2 separate regions of the Homo sapiens genome follow, and region 2 is linked to region 1. The links are contacts of gene promoters, found by promoter capture Hi-C in blood cells and fetal thymus (Javierre and others, 2016). All regions are on one chromosome and are shown on one strand. The core of a region is centred on a gene start or on the middle of the fragment in contact, and the rest is flanking DNA. Distances in the headings are between cores, read along the strand shown.

Region 1 (3,127 bases), core at 303-2,802:
GTTCTAGGGTACATGTGCACAACGTGCAGATTTGTTACATAGGTATGCATGTGCCATGTTGGTGTGCTGCACCCATCAACTCATCATTTACATTAGGTATTTCTCCTAACGCTATCCCTCCCCCAGGCCTCCACCCCCCAACAGGCCCCAGTGTGTGATATTCCCCTCCCTGTGTCCATGTGTTCTCATTGTTCAACTCCCACTTATGAGTGAGAACATGCGGTGTTTGGTTTTCTGTCCTTGTGATATTTTGCTGAGAATGATGGTTTCCAGCTTCATCCATGTCCCTGCAAAGGACATGAACTCATCCTTTTTTATGGCTGCATAGTATTCCATGGTGTATATGTGCCACATTTTCCTTATCCAGTCTATTATTGATGGACATTTGGGATGGTTCCAAGTCTTTGCTATTGTGAATAGTGCCACAATAAACATATGTGTGCATGTGTCTTTGAAAATTATCTGGGCCTGGCGCGGTGGCTCACGCCTATAATCCCAGCACTTTGGGAGGCCGAGGTGGGCAGATCACCTGAGGTCAGGAGTTCGAGACCAGCCTGGCCAACATGGCGAAACCCCGTCTCTACTAATAATACAAAAATTAGCCGGGCATGGTAGCTTGTGCCTGTAATCCCAACTACTTGGGAAGCTGAGGCAGGAGAATCCCTCGAACCCGGGAGGTGGAGGTTGCAGTGGGCCAAGATCACGCCATTGCACTCCAGCCAGGGCGACAGAGCCAGACTCCGTCTCAAAATCATCATCATCATCATCTGCATTATCATTATCTTGATTCTATGTGTCAAGTTAAAGACAAGGTTCTAGTCTATTTGCAAAGGACATTAAAAATAACAATTGTTAACACAGATAATCTTTAGTCTTTGAAAAACCAAATTAGATACAATTGTTGCTTCATTTCCCCCTTTAAAATTTTTCCTTTAAAAAAAATCCTAATGACATTATTTATGCTAATAAGAATTTTATCGGATGTAATAAAGTTCGTCTTGAGGCAAACTGCAGAATTATCACTTAACGTCAGTGTTCTTTAAGCTTCCCGACTTTACCAACTAGCCAGTAATATGTTCAATTTTTTTAGAAGTCATTTGAAACAATTTTCAGAACCTTAATCCACCAAGATGCTTCAATACCAAAGTACCAGTACCGTCATCTGAGGCTGGAGGGTTTAAAGCTGCTCTACCTTAGGTATATTTAAGATAATATTGTTTAACCTTTATAAACGATTAATTTTATTTGGATATTTTAAAATAACACTTGAAATAGGTGTCACAAAATTCTTTCAAAACGTGAATTCTCAGAACAACCTCCCCGAATCTGGGGCTTGAAGCCTCCGCCTCACTAAAAGTAGATCCCACCATTACCCGGCAGCGCGGAGGCATACCCGGAGACTGGGACCCCCACCTCCCCCGGGGCGTGACCTGTGATCCTTGACCCGTGACCCCACCTCCTCTAGGGCGTGACCCCCTAGCCCCACCTCCTCCGGGGCGTGGCCCGGAGATAACCCTGGTAAGAGTCGCGTAGCCCGAGCCGGGCGGAACCACTGTTCGCGCTGCCGTGTTTCCGGGCGGGGACACTCAGGGCGCGACGCTTTTCTGTTACCCACAGAGGCCCGCCGCGGCTGCGCCATCCGCGGCCATGAAGTTTCGGGCCAAGATCGTGGACGGGGCCTGTCTGAACCACTTCACACGTGAGCAGGGAGGCCGGAGAGGAGCGAGGGAGGAACGGAAGGAAGCAGTGAGCGCGCGGTGGGGACCGCGCAGGAGGATCAGAACGGGGATGGGCGCCGGAAGGGGCCGCGGGAGGATGGGGCCGGGATGGGGGTGCTGGTGTAGGCCGCGGGAGGGTGGGGCCGGGAGGGCGCGGGGCGGGTCGGAGGGCACTTGTGGGGATGAAGGCGGCTTTCAAGGGACGTTTCTGAAACTTGATTCCGATCACGTGGCTTTAAAAAAAAGCGGCCACTGCTCCCATAGACGGCTTTATCAGGCATTGACATACCTTCAAGGCCCCATTCGTCCCTCCACCCTGACAGTGCCTAACCTTGCATTTAACTGTGTATTGCAGTACCTAGTAGTCAATAAATCCATGTTGAATGAATGAATGACTGGTAGGTGCCTGTTTTCTTATTTGAACACTGATGATGTGTGCTGTACATCTCCCCTAGTTTGTTGGGAGAATTGCGTGACATCAGGGGTATTAAAGTACTTTCCAGTGTGATACCAACGTTAAGTGGTTATTTTTCCACCGAGAAGTTGATGAACAAGAAATTCTGCAAAATAAGTTGGTCTCTAGGATACATAATGTGCATTTTAGTAATTCCTTATTTTAACCCCTGCTTTAGGAATCAGTAACATGATAGCCAAGCTTGCCAAAACCTGCACCCTCCGCATCAGCCCTGATAAGCTTAACTTCATCCTTTGTGACAAGCTGGCTAATGGAGGAGTGAGCATGTGGTGTGAGCTGGAACAGGTGAGCAAAAGCTTCTGAGAGGCCTGCACACTCTGCAGATTGTCACTGGAAAGATCACATATACCCTCCCTCATCCCTCATTTTTTTTCCCTTAGGAGAACTTCTTCAACGAATTTCAAATGGAGGGTGTCTCTGCAGAAAACAATGAGATTTATTTAGAGCTAACATCGGAAAACTTATCTCGAGCCTTGAAGACTGCCCAGAATGCCAGGGCTTTGAAAATCAAACTGACTAATAAACACTTTCCCTGCCTCACGGTCTCCGTGGAGCTGGTGAGTAGGAGAGTCAGGGTTTCTAACACAGAAGTCTTGGCCTCGAAGGAATAGACATAGTTAGCCTAGCCTTTTTAACAATAAATACTGTTGAAAGCTGTTTGGTTTATTTAAATTTAAAGATCTGGTCCATAACTATATTTTGCATTAGAGTCAGTTCCTCCTCATTTTAAAATTGTGTTGTTATCATATGCATTCAGCTAGAATGCTGCTTTTTCCAAGCCGTGAAACTTCCAGCCTCTCTGTTTCTTGTAGTGGTATTGTCACCTTGTCTAGAAATCATGGTTTCTCTATCCATTTTCACCTTTGACATGTTTTCTCCCCACTCCCACCCTGCCTCATCTGCTATAATAACCTTTAAATGGCCCCTCGTTCTT
Region 2 (3,014 bases), core at 51-2,550, about 13 Mb after region 1:
TTGCAACCTCAGCATTGTGGCATTTTGGGTGGGATAATTTTTTTGTTGAGGGGGCTTTCCTGTGCACTGCAGGATTTTAGCAGCATCCTTGGCCTCCACCTACTAGATGCCACTGGTATCTCCCCAGTAGTGACAACGAAAATGTCTCCAGATTTTGGCCATTGTACCCTGGGAGGCAAAATTGTGTCATTTGGGACCACAGCTTTTATTCTCTACAGCTTACGAGAACCTTGAAGCCCATATGGTAGGAAACACTTGCGACTTCTTAGAGGCAGAAGTGGTCAGAAACTGGGTGGAGGCAGAGAGTTGAATCTAGCTGTTGGGGACTAGATGGGGGGAGCAATGTGGTGTGGTAGAAGCAGCATAGCCATATCAACACTGGCCTGCATTTGAATCCTGTTTCTGCATTCGAGCTGTTCTACACTCCTTTAATATTTCTCACCCTTAAAATGGGAATAATAAATGCTTTGTCTGATTATGGTAAAAAATAAATGAGATAATACATGTAAAATAGCACAGTAAGTTCATTCATAGTCAGTCATACCATATCATTGAGCGTCTACTAAGCCAGATGCTAGTTGGTGGGGTAAAATGTAGAATGAGACTCTGTCACCCCTACCTTCATGGAACTTACATTCTGGAAGGGGGGATGGTAAATAAATGAAAATAATTGCACATTGTGAATGAGTGCACTGCAGGAAAGAAACAAGCTGAGATAGAAAAAAAAGGAAATACCCTCTTTAAGTAGGGTCAGGAAAGGTCTCTGGGGAGGTAGCCTTGAAGCTGAGACCGATAGAAAGAAAAGATGTCAGCCGAACAGAAGAGTATGACAGAGCTTAGCATGTTGAAAGAAGAGAGGGTGGAGGTGCATCAAAGTGAGATGGGCATGGGCCAGATCTTGAAAAGGAGCTTGGGTTTTATTCTCAGTGCAACAGGAAGCCATTGAGGAATGCTCAACAGGAGGAGAGTGACATGATTAAATTTTTACTTTGAGAAATCTGCTCTTGGGAAAATGGGTGGTTGCACTACAAGGACAAAAGTGGAGAGACCCATGAGGAGGCTGTTCACGGACCTAGCAAGAGGGTTGCTGGCCTAGATGAAGGCGGTGGCTGTGGAGATGGAGAGAAATTGGTCAATTTGAGTTGTATTTTGGAGGTGAAAATGATAGGACTTATGAATTGGGCTTGGATTGAGGGAAAGGAAGGAGTTATGAATACTTTGTACATTTTTGGCTTCTCTAATTGGGTAAATAATGCTGGCATTCACCAAGATAGTGAAGACTAGGGGTATGGATGAGGGAATGGGTTTGAAGGAAAAGGTCAAGAATTTCGTCTTGGACATGTTACTTTTGGGACATTTGTGAGATGTCCAAGTAGAAATGCCAATCAGTGGTGGGATATGAGAGAAAAGGTCTGAGTGGAGATGTACTACAGGGAGTCATCAGCAAATAGGTGGTTTTCACATTAATGGTAATTGAATTTGTATTCCCATTGAACTTCTATTTCCATACTTAGGGGAACAATAGCATCTTATACTGATAGGGGGCTTACTCTTTGCCAGGCTTTGTTGGAAGTGCTTTAGATGAACTCATTTAACTGTTTACTCAGTCCTCACCATGACACTATGATTACTGTGCTTGTTTTACCACGTGGGGGGAATCTGAGGCACAAAGATATTAAGTAACTTGTCCAAGGTCACCCCTAGAATGTAGAAGGGCCAGGATTTGACCCAGGCAATGTGTTTCCTAAGTTCATGCTCTTAACTAGTATGCTATATTTCATCTCCTCTAAGGGGACAGTACAGCAAAAGAAATGAAACCCTAGAGTCCAATTCTGAGAAACCCTAACATTTTGTGCTCAATAAATGTTAGTTTTCTTGTTTCTTCCTTCCCCAGGAAAAAGAAGGAAAAGAGGGTCATACTTAGAGATACAGGAACAACAAGTAGAAAGAGCATATTAGGGGTGGCATAAGGGCCAAGAAAAGCTAAGGAAGCATGAGGCACAGGGACACAGGCCATCTTGGTGTGCTTGCTTTCAAACAGACACATAGACCCAACTGAGCACCAGCTGTGAGAGTGTGTTTATGTTAATTCATAGAGGTTATGCCAATGGGAATTTGGGATTTTAAAGAATTTCTTTAATGTTTACAGCCATTTTTTTTTCTTTCTAAGATAGACTTCTGGCTAACTCTAAAGAATGTTTATAATCACCTAAACATATTTTATTATTAACAGATACAGTTAGAAGTTTTCTGAATATGTGATGCTCATTAGCATCCAAATAACAAATTTGATAAGTTTAGTTTATGTAAATATAAGCATATGTTATCTATTTGTGATTGATTTTTGGCCAATAATATGGCATCAATACTGAAAGCACATACAGTTTTATTTATGTACATATGGGTATTTGGATGTTGCTAATATTTGAACCGTGGCTGTTATGCATTGTAAATACTTATCCTATTAGGCTGTATTAATTTCTCTTAATGAGTGTGTTAGGTATATTAATGTTTCTTAAAGTTCATGCTAATGAGGCAAGTTGTTACTTAGTAACCCCGAGGGATTGGTTCAAGGACCTCCCTCCGATATCAAAATCTGCAGATTCTCAAGTCCCTAGTATAAAATGGCATAGTATTAGCCTATAACATACACACATACTCCTGGATACTTTAAATCATGCCTAGATTACTTAGAATACCTAATAGAATGTAAATGTTACTTATATATTTGTTACACTGTATTGTTTAGGGAATAATATCTGCATGTGTTCAGTACAGATGGATTTTTTTTCCGCCTACTATTTTCAATCTGAGGTTGGTTGAATCTGCAGATGTGGAACTGACAGATATGGAGGACTGACTAAATCTACATTGTCATAGAGACCATAAACCTGTGTACATAGTTCCAAATGGGGTAGCTTTAGGCTTTATTATTCATATGTTTAATCCTAAATTCCTGTTTTGCTAGTTCTTTTGCCATCAGCTTGTACTTCAGCCAAACCATTGAGACATTA

The links. The method cuts DNA at HindIII sites, captures the fragments that hold promoters and counts their contacts. A CHiCAGO score of 5 or more calls a contact.
Region 2: a contact is called between a fragment that was not itself captured here and the fragment with the promoter of HUS1 in region 1, in 1 of 17 cell types (total CD8 T cells). The highest score is 9.0, in total CD8 T cells.

Annotation. Positions count from the first base shown.
Region 1 is chr7:47,978,040-47,981,166 of GRCh38, reverse strand. It overlaps HUS1 (HUS1 checkpoint clamp component), which reads left to right and starts at 1,552. Exons shown (of 8, transcript NM_004507.4): 1 at 1,552-1,699; 2 at 2,351-2,478; 3 at 2,574-2,750. The coding sequence starts at 1,648. RefSeq lists an enhancer at 1,482-1,771 and silencers at 1,842-1,901, 1,982-2,031. The HindIII fragment of the contact is 1,329 bases long and covers 1,047-2,375 here.
Region 2 is chr7:35,031,001-35,034,014 of GRCh38, reverse strand. The region is part of intron 1 of DPY19L1 (dpy-19 like C-mannosyltransferase 1); the gene reads left to right. Among named protein-coding and RNA genes, the nearest start is that of DPY19L1, 5.0 kb to the left of the region's middle. The HindIII fragment of the contact is 6,354 bases long and covers 1-3,014 here.